Regions from separate parts of the Homo sapiens genome. Here regions 1 and 3 are each linked to region 2. The links are contacts of gene promoters, found by promoter capture Hi-C in human tissues and cell types (Jung and others, 2019). All regions are on one chromosome and are shown on one strand. The core of a region is centred on a gene start or on the middle of the fragment in contact, and the rest is flanking DNA. Distances in the headings are between cores, read along the strand shown.

Region 1 (4,467 bases), core at 853-3,352, 40 kb before region 2:
TTTTAACTTTATTTGACTAATATGACTGTCAATACTAAAATTTAGTTGTTGAAAGTATTTACTATGTTTTTTGATGTTCCCCTATAGAGTATTGTTTCGTTGGTTTTTGTTGTTGTCGTTGTTGTTGTTTTAAACAGGGTCTTGCTCTGTTTCCTAAGCTGAAGTGCAATGACACCATCACGGCTCACTGCAACCTCAACCTCTGGCCTCAAACAATCCTCTCATCTCAGCCTTCCCAGTAGCTGGGAGTCCCCACAGGCATGTGCCACCATGCTCAGCTAATTTTTTATTTTTTGTAGAGATAGGGGTCTTGCTATGTTACCCAAGCTGGTCTTGAACTCCTGGCCTCAGACAATCCTCCTGCCTCAGCCTCCCAAAGTGCTGGGATTACAGACATGAGCCACCGTGCCTGGCCTTGAAAATTGTAGTTTATAGCCTTTAAAACTTAATTCTTTTATTGTTTCCTTTTTCTTCTAATGCTTATGTAAAGAAATTTTGATATTATAGAACTGTAGAATTGTAGAAGTGCAAACTTCCTGTATTCTTTCCTTTCCCAGAAACTGTTATTTTTGTTGTATATTCCTCCAGATTTTTCTGTGTATGTACTGACATATTTTTGAATGTTAAAATGTTTATACTTACTATTATACAAAATTCTTGTTTTATAACCTTTTTTTCACTTAACAATGTATCTTGACTATCTTTCTTTATAAGACATGAGATGTGTAAAACATCTCATTCTTTTAACATCTGTTACATGCATGTTGCAGAATTTATTAACTAGTCCCATGTTAATGTCTGAGTTGGTTCCATATTTTTACTGTCAACCAGTACAGCACTGAACACCTTTATGCAAAGAGGTAGAATCTTTAACTTTATTTTGGTGTTGTTGAGACAAAGTTTCTCTCTTGCTGCCCAGGCTGGAGTGCAGTGGTGCAATCTTGGCTCACTGCAACCTCTGCCTCCCAGGTTCAAGCGATTCTCCTGCCTCAGCCTCCCGAGTAGCTGGGATTACAGGCGTCCATCACCACGCCCAGCCTATTTTTGTATTTTTAGTAGAGGCAGGGTTTCACCATGTTGGCCAGGCTGGTCTCGAACTCCTTACCTCAGGTGACCTGCTCTCCTGGGCCTCCCAAAATGCTGGGTTTACAGGCGTGAGCCACTGCACTCAGCCCAAAATCTTTAACTTTTTAAAGTAAGTGATACGTTAACATGATTAAAAGCCAAAAGTGGCCAGGTGCAGTGGGTCACACCTGTAATCCCAACACTTTTTGGGAGACTGAGGTGGGAGAATGGCTTGAGGCCAGGAGTTCAAGTCTAGCCTGGATAACATAGCAAGATTCCATCTTGACAAAAAACAATTAGGCGTGGTGGTATACATGTATAGTCCTAGGTACTTGGGAGGCTGAAGCAGGAAGATCGCTTTGTCTGGGAGTTTGAGGCTGCAGTGAGCTGTGATTACACGACTGCACTCCAGCCTGGACAGGTAATGTCTGTCAAAAAATAAATAAATAAAGTCAAAAGTATGAAAAAGTTATACAGTAAAATTTACCCTGTCTTGCATTCACCATATAGTATTAACATATGCTATTACTAGTTTCTTCTAGAAAGTTTTTAATGCTTGAATGAACAAATACAAGTGTATTTTCTACACAGATACACTTTTTTTGTTGTTAAAGAAGCAGCAGCATACTATAAACACTGTTCAACATCTTATATTTGCATTTATTTTATCTTGAAGGTCTCACATATTTGTAAGGAGCTTCCTCATTTTGATGGTTATACAGTATCCCATTGTATAGATGTACATAATTTATTTAATCAGTTCTGCATTGGCGAATATTACAGTTTCCAATTTCTGCCAGAGCAGTGTCATAATTGTATCCATATGTCATTTTGTACTTGCAAGTTTATATGTGGGAAAATTAATAGATGTGGTACTACTGGCCCTGCTAGGGGTTTGTGCATAATTTAGATACTACTTTTCATAGAGGTTATAGTAATTGACCATCTCAACAGCAATAATGAATTGGAGTCCCTGTGTCCCACAGTTTTTCATACAACGTGTAAAACAAAACTTTATAACTTTCCCAACTCATTAGGTGAAAAATACTCTCTCAGTGTAGTTTTAATTGTATTCCTCTTCTTATGACTGAGTTTAAGCCTGCTTTAGTCCATTGAGAATCTTTTGTATAGTACTATTTCTATAAATTCTATTTTGTAATAACATTTAAAATATTAGTAGATATTGCCAATTGTGATACACAAATGGTAAGCAATAACATGAATATTCTCTCATTCTCACCTACACTGGATGTTAAATAATTGACTGAGAAATGTATATTCTTGAGTCCTTTTCTTTAGCTAAAAATAATAGTCAATTATATAATGAAATAATTTTAAACAAGTCTGATTTCTAATGATGTTTATAGTATGTCTTTCTTTTAAAAAATGCAAAAGCTAAATTTATTGTCCGATACTAACTAATATCCCATACTAACATAAGGGATATTGCATTGATGTCTCAGTTGTTTAGCTTTATCCCAGGAAAAAGGGTATTTGAAAATATTAAATAGGTTCCAGTCTTAGTTACCTGAATGATTGGTGTTTTGGAATATAGCCTTACCCTTTAGGGATTCTCTCTTCAAGCACAAGTGCACTGCATTCAGTGTGCTGACAATTTTTATATCTTGTACTTTAGAATTGTTATAGCTAGATCTGGACACATTACTTCTTATCGATTCTGAGTCTGTGCCATATTTATCAAATAAACCAGAAAACTGATGGCACGTGACAGCAACAGGCTTATCACCCTGCTTCGCTGTGTGTCTCTTTGCCATGGCCTCTAGGGTTTTTAAAGTGGTGCTGTTTCACTCTATCCAAGACCAGATTTTGTTTCACTCTAACTATATCTGCCTTCTCTCTTCTTCACTATGACCTCACTGAAACGGCCTCCCTCTTGATGCTTTATGATGACTTCCTTACCAAAGGTTCTCAGATATTCAACCAAGCAAGGCAGAAATACAACTTTGTATTAAAGCAAGAGAAATCTGAATGCAGTTGTGTGTAAAACATGCTCTCAATTATATTTGAGAAGAATAATTTTTTAAACAGTTGAAAGATAAATGGTAGGATATTAGCAGCATTTGCTTCTAGACTTGGATTTAGAGCGGTGTTTCATTGACTCTCTGTGTGTGTGCATGTGTATGTTCACAGATTTTTCATTTGTGGACCTGGGAGGGAGGAGCTTGGAATCTGAAAAAATTCATCTCTGGGGAAGAGAGGTCTATTGTTTGTGGGTACATGTATATGTGTGCAAAGATACAGCTGAAAAGATTCATTGGCCCAAACTCAGATTTGGCTTTTTGAGTCCAGATTGAGCTTCTTTCTAACAAAGATCCAAATTCAAACCTTAACATGGTAAAATCTTTGTTACTGTAACGTAACTTTTTTTTTTTTTTTACAATAATTATGGAAGATAAATGTATGAAGTCGAACCCAGCATTGAAACCCTAGGAAAGCGAACATTCTTAATTTTGGTGATGGAAAAAAATAGTAACATTCAATAATGTGTGTATCATCTTTAGAGAAAGTTCTGTAAAGAGTTAATAAGATCCAAAGTTGTTTAACAGTAAAAACTTTATATATATATTATATATAATATATATTTTTATTTATTTTATTTATTTATTTATTTATTTATTTATTTATTTATTTATTTATTTATTTTGAGACAGCATCTCACTCCTGTCGCCCAGGTTGGAGTACACTGGAGCGATCTCAGCTCACTGCAGCCTCAACTTCTCAAGCTCAGGTGTTCCTCCTACCTCCCTGGGTAGCTGGGACTATAGGCACACACCACCATGCCCGGCTAATTTTTTATACTTTTAGTAGAGTTGGGGTTTCACCATGTTTCCCAAGCTGGTCTCAAACTCCTGAGTTCAAGCAATCCGCCTGCCTCAACCTCCCAAAGTGCTGGGATTACAGGTGCGAGCCACCTAGCCCCGCCAGTAAAAACTTTTAAACTCATTTGACAAAGAGGTCTGAGCATGTTTGTTGATTAAATAAGGCAGGCCTCTCTCTCATAGCTTGAATACATTTTTTAAATTCTTGGTAAGTAGTATTGTATGTCATAATTTTTATTGCAGGCTAAGAGGAAAGAAATGCCATGTTGTGGAGTAAAAATCCAGAGACCTTTCACTGATTACCTCTGCTCACCTATATTGCCCTTTTTTTTTCAGGTGCCTGTGCCCCCTTTATTTTACACAACTATGCAAATTGTGAGGCCAAGGATGTGACTGCAAACAATTAAGATTTGATTTACATGAATAAGCTTTCTTCTCCATGAAAATACACTGTGTCACTTCACACTTGGTCTAACACACACACAAAATTCTCACCCTAGGTGGCACAGATACACTCAGCATGCAATATTAAGTACAATTTCCATTTTATTTTTCTCCAGAG
Region 2 (4,769 bases), core at 257-2,756:
TAGTTGAATTTTAAATACTGGCAATTTCACATGGGTCAACCTAAGTAGACCATGTAATTCCATAATGTGGCTATCTATAGTCTAGAAACTAGACCATAAAGGAATACAAAGAGTGTGTGCATGCACGCATACTCACACTCTTATCTTGAAATGGTTATCCCACATACCCGACAATTTTCATGTTAATGCTGTAACCTATGTGCAATTTTGTTTAACCTTCATGTTACTAATTCCCATTTGTTTTGGCCACCAAGTTTATCATAAGTTCTGGAAGAACACTACAACAAAGCAGGCCTGCAAAATCCAGCCTATCCCCAAAGTACTGTCCAGGTCTTTGCTAGATTATCTCTAAATTGCAAAATGCCTTTCACTGCATGGAGAGGAAAATAAATTCATAAGTAAACAAAAAGTACATTCTCTACCTTGTGGGACGCCGAAATCATGCACATTTAGTATAGCCCAGAAACAAATGCTTCCTACGACTCTGCAGGACCATGTCTAAGAAGGAATATCCTCAAATCCTGAAATATTTCAAACGACTACTTAAGAATGGAGTACATCGACCTCCTCCTACTGCAGAAATTAACTGTTCTATATTTGTATCTCCAAGGTACATTTTTCCTAAAAGAATATCAGCACCAAGGAGACTACACCCCTTACCAAAAAAAAAAAAAAAAAAAGAGGGAGAAGAATCTTTTGAGTCATTGTGCGAATCCCCACGTTGGGCTCCGCATCCTCTCAAGCCGTTCTCCTGTAAATAACCAGACACATCTACACCAATCCACGGTTCTTTCATGGTTCTAAGTTAGTCAGCAGTATTTACAGAGATCTTTCCCGTCACCTAAAAGAAAGGTGCTAACGAACAGCAGTTCCTGGGCGTGAATGCCCGGATCCCGGGATGCAGGCGCTTCTCCCGTCTGCCCTGCGAGCTGCCGGCCCGACAGCCCCATAGACCCCTAGCATTTCTCGAATCCAGGGGCCTCCGAGGTCACCCTGCCTGACACCCTTTCCGCCCCGATTTTCGTGACCGTGCAGCCAGCACTGCCTACTCTGACTGAACAGGGACGATGAACGCAGCTACGCCCCGCGGGTCCACCGATGATGACCGCAGTCACGAAGAGGCCAGACCGCCGCCCGCCTCTCAAGCCCACCCCGGGACCCCGGGTTACTCCGGCACTGATGCCGGCCGCCGCTCGGCCTGCCGGGCCTCAAGGACATTCCTTGCAGTCCCCGCGGGTCCGAGCTGCCACACCGACAAAGCGCAACCGCAGCCCCCTCCAGGTCCGCAGGAGCTGCCGGTAGCCACTTCCCAGGGCCGAGGGAAGCTCCAGAATTGCCACCAACACAGCCCAAACCCCGCTCCCACCCATCTCCGCCCCGCTCCCCGCCGCCCCTGCCCCTCTTCTCGGTCACCGCCCGCCTCACCTCCAGATCTCACTAGAGGCCACCGAACCCCGGCGCCGACGCTCAGCCTGGCTCCAGTTAACGCAGTCGCGGAGCGGAAGGAGCCCTCACCTTACGCACGCTCGGAGCTGGACGAGCCTTCGACCAATAAGAGAGGATCGTTCGATTGTCTAGCCAATCGCCTGGGGGCTGCTCGGCCTGACGGCGCTACGTCACGAACGGTCGCCTTAACAACCGCCCACAGCTCTCTGCAGGGCCAAGAACAGGCACCGCACCATCTCTCACCACGGCTCGGCCAACCAATAGCCGTTCGAGTCCCAGCACTAGGGCCTGCCTATTGGTCCTAGAGCTGTGGGGGCGCACGCATGGCAGCTGCCTAGGCGGAGGCGATAGGGGACCAGGCGGGTGGAGTGTCCCACAGCCTCAGTGCCTGACCCGTGCTCGTCCTGGCTGTGATAGTACAGTAGGAGGCAGTGATAGGAAGCAGAATCGGAGCGTGAGGGAAAACGCAGGGTCAGGTCGATGACTGAAAGCTCAGTTACTAGCGCGGGAGAGATGGAGGGAAGCGGAGGCGGCCATGAGAAAAAGAGGAATATAAAAAAAGGGAAGGTGGCGGCGACGGGCACCTCAAACCTGTAACTGGCCGGTAGCCGAAACCAGCGCTTTCCCGAGATTTACCCATTAGTGTAAATGGCTCCGGTCACCTGCGTCTCTCTCTCTTGTGTGCGACATCCATTGCATACTGGATTCTCTCTGAAATGTGCCTCTCCTGCGTCTTCTGTGCGTTCCTTCTGCTCTCCGCCTGGTGCAGGGCTTTATTATGTCTTACTTAAAACAGTGCAATAGCCTCTCCTAACTGGTCTTCCCAGTCTTACACGCATGCACTTCCCAATCTGTCCTGCAGAACTCCCACATGCAGTATGTGGCATACTACTTCCTATTATGCCATAGACCCAAATCAGCGTTTCTCATTGTCTACTGGATTAAAGAAAGAACCTGTCACCACTAATATGGCCCCACCACACATTTCTGACGTATCTCTACTTTCCTGTGCGAACCTTACAGTTCAGCCAGGAGTAACTGGCCCTTCTTCAGTCACACTCAGTACCTTTTTACCTCCCTGCTTATGTTCTCTTTGTTTACCTTGGATATGCCTACCCATTTTAACTGCTGAGATCCTAAATATCCCTTAAGGACTTTTTCATATGCCACCTCCTTTCCTAATTCCCTCAAACACATCATCACTCCCGACCTTGAAAACCCATAAAATTTCCGTAGTATTTTTTTATTTGTCTTACTATCGTATGTGGAAATTTATTAAGGACAGGAATTGTATTTCACTCAATTTTTAAAGCCCATATTTTGAAACACATTACGAAGAAAACACTAAACACTCCTTAGTTTTAATAAATGATTATAGATTCTTATAATCCTTATATAATAGGTATTATTCCCATTTTACAAAAAAGTAAAAATTAAAGTTTGTCAAGCAACTTGCTGTAGATCACATAGATAATGAGCAAAACTGGAATTTGAACCCAGATCTAATGCTTAGGCTGGTTCTACTGTTCCCCACTGCTTCAGTGTAAGACCTTCATTCATATCTCTTTACCAAATGTTGCCTTTGAAATGCTCATTATGTGAAGTACACACTGTGGTTGGCATGGGAGATATAGTGACAAACATGACAGACATAGTGCCTGCCTTTATGAACCTTGCACAGTAAAGAAAACGGGTGAACTACCCAAAGATTGCAGTGTTCTCTTAGCAGCCTTGTCAAAAAAAAAAAAAAAAAAGAGAGAAAAGTGTGTAAGTACCGAGAGCCTAGAACCTGTCATATTTTTAATGCCGCTAGAAGTCTCAAGGACCAAATATCTCAGAAGTTACAGGTTGTACACATGCCTACTAATGTAATTCAAATAAGGACTAAAGTTGTTACCAAAACAGGCTTTAGCCCAAGATTTAGAAATTTTCATTCGCAAACTGCCTAATTGGGAACTCCAATAGGAATATGAGTTCCAAAGCAAGCAATAAAGAAACACCAGTTGTCTAGTTTTATGCTCTTAAAATAAATTCTATATCCTTCCCAAAAGGTATTTCAAAAGAATCTTTATAGCACTTAACTAATAATTTGTACTTAGTGATAAATCACAAAATTTGGTATGGACACAAGGTAGAAAGGGAGGGTGGGGGAAGCGCCAAGGAAGTCCATGTGCCGCTTCCTCATATGCATTTAACCCTTCAAGGAAAGAGTTTATAAAAGTATAATTTTTTTATTTTTAGAGACAGAGCCCAGGCGGGCGTGCAGTAATGGGTCCGGAATTGGAGGGTTCTTGGTCTCACTGACTTCAAGAATGAAGCCGTGGACTCTCGCGGTGAGTGTTAACAGCTCTTAAGGTGGCGCGTCTGGAGTCTGTCCCTTGTGATGTTCAGATGTGTTCGGAGTTTCTTTCTTCTGGTGGGTTCGTGGTCTCGCTGGCTCAGGAGTGAAGCTGCAGACCTTCGCGGTGAGTGTTATAGCTCTTAAGGCAGCGCGTCCGGAGTTTTTCGTTCCTCCCAGTGGGCTCTTAGTCTTGCTGGGCTCAGGAGTGAAGCTGCAGACCTTCGTGGTGAGTGTTACAGCTCATAAAAGCAGCGTGGACCCAAAGAGTGAGCAGTAGCAAGATTTATTGCAAAGAGCAAAAAAACCAAGCTTCCACAGTGTGGAAGGGAACCCGAGCTGGTTGCCAATGCTGGCTCAGGCAGCCTGCTTTTATTCTCTTATCTGGCCCCACCCACATCCTGCTGATTGGTAGAGCCGAGTGGCCTGTTTTGTCAGGGCACTGATTGGTGCGTTTACAATCCCTGAGCTAGATACAAAGGTTCTCCACGTCCCCATCAGATTAGTTAGATACAGTTTCCACACACAGGTTCTCCAAGGCCCCACCAGAGCATCTAGATACAGAGTGTCGATTGGTGCACTCACAAACCTTGAGCTAAACACAGGGTGCTGATTGGTGTGTTTACAATCCCTGAGCTAGACATAAAGGTTCTCCAAGGCCCCACCAGAGCAGCTAGATACAGAGTGTCGATTGGTGCACTCACAAACCTTGAGCTAAACACAGGGTGCTGAATGGTGTATTTACAATCCCTGAGCTAGATATAAAGACTCTCCACGTCCCCACCAGACTCAGGAGCCCAGATGGCTTCACCCAGTGGATCCTGCACCAGGGCTGCAGGTGGAGCTGCCTGCCAGTCCCGCGCCGTGCGCTCACACTCCTCAGCCCTTGGGTGGTCGATGGGACTGGGCGCCGTGGAGCAGGGGGTGGTGCTCGTCGGAGAGGCTGGGGCTGCACAGGAACCCACGGAGTGGGTGGGAGGCTCAG
Region 3 (4,373 bases), core at 587-3,086, 49 kb after region 2:
TTCAAAAGCTAGCAGAAGACAAGAAATAACTAAGAGCAGAGCAGAACTGAAGAAGATAGAGACACAAAAAACGCTTCAAAAAATCAATGAATCCAGGAGCTGGTTTTTGAAAAGATCAACAAAATTGATAGACCACTAGCCAGACTAATAAAGAAGGAAAGAGAGAAGAATCAAACAGACACAATAAAAAATGTTAAAGGGGATATCACCACTGATCCCACAGAAATACAAACTACCATTAAAGAATAATATAAACACTTCTATGCAAATAAAGTAGAAAATCTAGAAGAAATGGATAAATTCCTGGACACATACACCCTCCCAAGACTAAACCAGGAATAAATTGAATCCCTGAATGGACAAATAACAAGTTCTGAAATTGAGGAAGTAATTAATATCCTACCAACCAAAAAAGCCCAGGGCCAGGTGGATTCACAGCCGAATTCTACCAGAGGTACATAGAGGAGCTGGTACCATTCCTTCTGAAACTATTCCAAACAATGGAAAAAGAGGGATTCCTCATAACTCATTTTATGAGGCCAGCATCATCCTGATACAAAAACTTGGCAGAGACACAACAAAAAAAGAAAATTTCAGGTCAATATCCCTGATGAACATCAATGCAAAAATCCTCAATAAAATACTGGCAAATTGATTCCAGCAGCACTTGAAAAAGCTTATCTACCATGACCAAATCAGCTTCATCCCTGGGATGCAAGGCTGGTTCAACATATGCAAATCAATAAACATAATCCATCACATAAACAGAACCAATGACAAAAACCACATGATTGTCTCAATAGATGCAGAAAAGGCCTTTGATAAAATTCAACTCCCCTTTATGATAAAAACTCTCAATAAACTAGGTATTGATGGAACATATCTCAAAATAATAAGAGCTATTTGACAAACCCACAGCCAATATCATACTGAATGGGCAAAAGCTGGAAGCATTCCCTTTGAAAACCAGCACAAGATAAAGATGCCCTCTCTTGCCACTCATATTCAACATAATATTGGGAGTTCTGGCCAGGGCAATCAGGCAAGAGAAAGAAATAAAGAGTTTTCAAGTAGGAAGAGAGGAAGTCAAATTATCTCTGTTTGCAGCTGACATAATTGTATATTTAGAAAACCCCATTGTCTCAGCCCGAAAACTTATTAAGCTGTAAGCAAGTTTGGCAAAGTCTCAGGATACAAAATCCATGTGCAAAAATTACAAGCATTCCTATACACCAATAATAGAGAGCCGAATCATGAGTAAATTTCCATTCACAATTGCTACAAAGAGAATAAAATACCTAGGAATACAACTTACCATGGTTGTAAAGGACCTCTTAAAGGAGAACTACAAATCACTGCTCAAGGAAATAAGAGAGGATATAAACAAATGGAAAAACATTCCATGCTCATGGATAGGAAGAATCAATATCATGAAAGTGGCCATACTGCCCAAAGTAATGTATAGATTCAATGCTATCCCCATCAAACTACCATTGACTTTCTTCACAGATTTACAAAAAACGGCTGGGTGCGGTGGCTCACCCCTGTAATCCCAGCACTTTGGGAGGCCAAGGCGGGCAGATTATGAGGTCAGGGGTTCAAGATCAGTCTGGCCAACATAGTGAAACTGTGTCTCTACTAAAAATACAAAAAAATTAGCCGGATATGGTGGTGTGCACCTGTAATGCCAGCTACTTGGGAGGCTGAGGCAAGAGAATCTCATGAACCTGGGAGGTGGAGGTTGCAGTGAGCTGAGATCATGCCAGCTCACTCCAGCCCGGGTGACAGTGTGAGACTCTGTCTCAAAAAAAAAAAAAGAATTAGAAAAAACTACTTTAAATTTCATATGGAACCAAAAAAGAGCACGCATAGCCAAGACAATCCTAAGCCAAAAGAACAAAGCTGGAGGCATCACGCTGCCTGACTTCAAACTATACTACAAGGCTACAGTAACCAAAACAGCATGGTACTGGTACCAAAACAGATATATAGACCAATGGAACAGAACAGAGGCCTCAGAAATAATGCCACACATGTACAACCATCTGATCTTTGACAAACCTGAGAAAAACAAGCAATGGGGAAAGGATTCCCTGTTTAATAAGTGGTGTTGGGAAAACTGGCTAGCCATATGCAGAAAACTGAAACTGGACCCCTTCCTTACACCTTATACAAAAATTAACTCAAGATGGATTAAAGACTTAAATGTAAGACCTAAAAACCATAAAAACCCTAGAAGAAAACCTAGGCAATACCATTCAGGACACAGGCATGGGCAAAGACTTCATGACTACAACACCAAAAGCAATTGCAACAAAAGCCAAAATTGACAAATGGAATCTGATTAAAGTAAAGAGCTTCTGCACAGCAAAAGCGGATCACCAGGTCAGGCGCTCCAGGTCAGGCAGGTGGATCACCAGGTCAGGGTGGATCTCCAGGTCAGGACGGCGGATCACCAGGTCAGGAGCTCAAGACCATCCTAGCTAACAAAATGAAACCCCGTCTCTACTAAAAATACCAAAAATTAGCTGGGTGTGGTGGCATGCACCTGTAGTTCCAGCCACTTGGGAGGCTGAGGCAGGAGAATCACTTGAACCCGGGAGATGGAGATTGCAGTGAGCTGAGATCGCGCCATTGCACTACAACCTAGGCAACAAGAGAGAGACTCTGTCTCAACAACAACAACAAAAAAAGTCCAGTCAACTGAGAAAGAAAAACTTTTGCTTAAAAAAAAAAAAAAAAAAAAAAAAAAAAAAAAAAAGATGAGGTCCTAGGAGAAAAACAAAAACAAAACATGAAGGCCTTTTAAATACAAACACACAAATATGTGCACACACACACACACACACCTTGGATGTTTGCTTTTAATTAAGCTTTTAACCATTGAGCTCCTTCGAAAAGATGTTTTTTAATCTCATTACCATATTTCAGCTAGAACAAATTGCTGCTATGTCAGATGTACAGCCATTGCTCTTCAGTTTGGCCTGGCTAGCAAACAGATGGCCTTGTTATGTAAATAAAGCCCCTTAGCAGTCAAAATAAAAATTTTTTTCCTCTCTTTTTATCCTTTTGCTGGCCATTTTTCTACTCCCACCACACTATCCTTTTTTGTGTGTGTTTGGGAATTTAGCCACCTCAGAGGCCTCTTTCCTCATAATTTGGAACTTCCTTTGGGTTTGATCTGGTTGGATAGAGTTGATCAAACCCAATGGGAAAAAGACCGAAACAACAACAGAAACAGAAACAAACAACAATAAGAAAAAATGTTAAGCAAAACAAATGATTGCACAACTTACATGATTACTGAGTGTTCTAATGGTAAGGAGAAATTAAGACCAGCTGGTTGTTAATCTTAGCTTTATCCAAGACAAACCTCAATTCGGTTACTTACCGAGGGATGGATTTCAGGCTGAAGACTCTCTCTACCATCCTAGAAGCAGGAAAAACAAACAAACAAACAAACAAAAAAACCAAAAGAAAACCTCATCTCCCCTTTGGAAGTGAGCTCAAACTTCATAAAGGAGTTACCTGCCTTCCATGACCATGGAAGAGAAAAAAAAAAAAGAATTGTACAGCAAAATAAACTTTAGATTTCAACCAAATTTTGGGAGATCAGGAATTCTCTGGAGCAGGTGCTCTCAGACCTCAGCAAATTATCCTATTGGTTTGAGCCATAAAGTTAGCTCATGTTGGTACCAAGCACCAGTAGGGGATTTGTCAATAGTCAGGGGAACCTCCACTCAGAATCCCTTCATGGTTACCAAAATGCAAACTCTAAAAAGTCAAGACAAGTCTCAGTTAATTTAGAAAGTTAATTTTGCCGAGGTTGATGACGTGCCCATGACACAGCCTCAGGAGGTCCTGACAACATGCGCCCAAACTGGTCAGAGCATAGTCTGGTTTTATACATTTTAGGGACACATGAGACATCAATCAACATATATGAGATGAACATTGGTTCGGTCTGGAAAGGCAGGACAACTGAAAGCTGGAAGGGGGCTACCAGGTCATAGGTAGATAAGAGACAAATGTTTGCATTCTTTTGAGTTTCTAATTAGCCTCTCCAAAGGAGGCAATCAGATATGCTTTTTTTTTTGAGACGGAGTCTGGAGGCTGGGTGCAGTGGAGCGATCTTGGCTCACTGCAAGCTCCACCTCCTGGGTTCATGCCATTCTCCTCCCTCAGCCTCCCGAGTAGCTGGGATTACAGGTGGCCGCCACTACGCCTGGCTAATTTTTTATATTTTTAGTAGAGACGGGGTTTCACCGTGTTAGCCAGGATAGTCTCGATCTCCTGACCTTGTGATCTGCCTGCCTCGGCCTCCCAAAGTGCTGGGATTACAGGCGTGAGCCACCGCCCCCTGCCCAGATATG

The links. Contacts are between HindIII fragments. The study calls those that stand out against the background at their distance.
Region 1: a fragment that was not itself captured here is called in contact with the fragment with the promoter of HMGCR in region 2 in 1 of the 25 tissues and cell types used here (hippocampus).
Region 3: a contact is called between a fragment that was not itself captured here and the fragment with the promoter of HMGCR in region 2, in 1 of the 25 tissues and cell types used here (adrenal gland).

What each region holds. Positions count from the first base shown.
Region 1 is chr5:75,374,845-75,379,311 of GRCh38, reverse strand. CERT1 (ceramide transporter 1) reads left to right here. Exons shown (of 17, transcript NM_001379029.1): 17 at 1-1,537. It also overlaps the pseudogene RPS26P26. Among named protein-coding and RNA genes, the nearest start is that of HMGCR, 40 kb to the right of the region's middle. The HindIII fragment of the contact is 9,528 bases long and covers 1-4,467 here.
Region 2 is chr5:75,333,957-75,338,725 of GRCh38, reverse strand. It overlaps HMGCR (3-hydroxy-3-methylglutaryl-CoA reductase), which reads right to left and starts at 1,506. Exons shown (of 20, transcript NM_000859.3): 1 at 1,426-1,506. RefSeq lists enhancers at 476-1,034, 1,035-1,595 and a silencer at 1,275-1,394. The HindIII fragment of the contact is 13,606 bases long and covers 1-4,769 here.
Region 3 is chr5:75,285,321-75,289,693 of GRCh38, reverse strand. The region is part of intron 1 of LOC124901007 (a long non-coding RNA gene); the gene reads left to right. Among named protein-coding and RNA genes, the nearest start is that of HMGCR, 50 kb to the left of the region's middle. The HindIII fragment of the contact is 4,212 bases long and covers 1-3,942 here.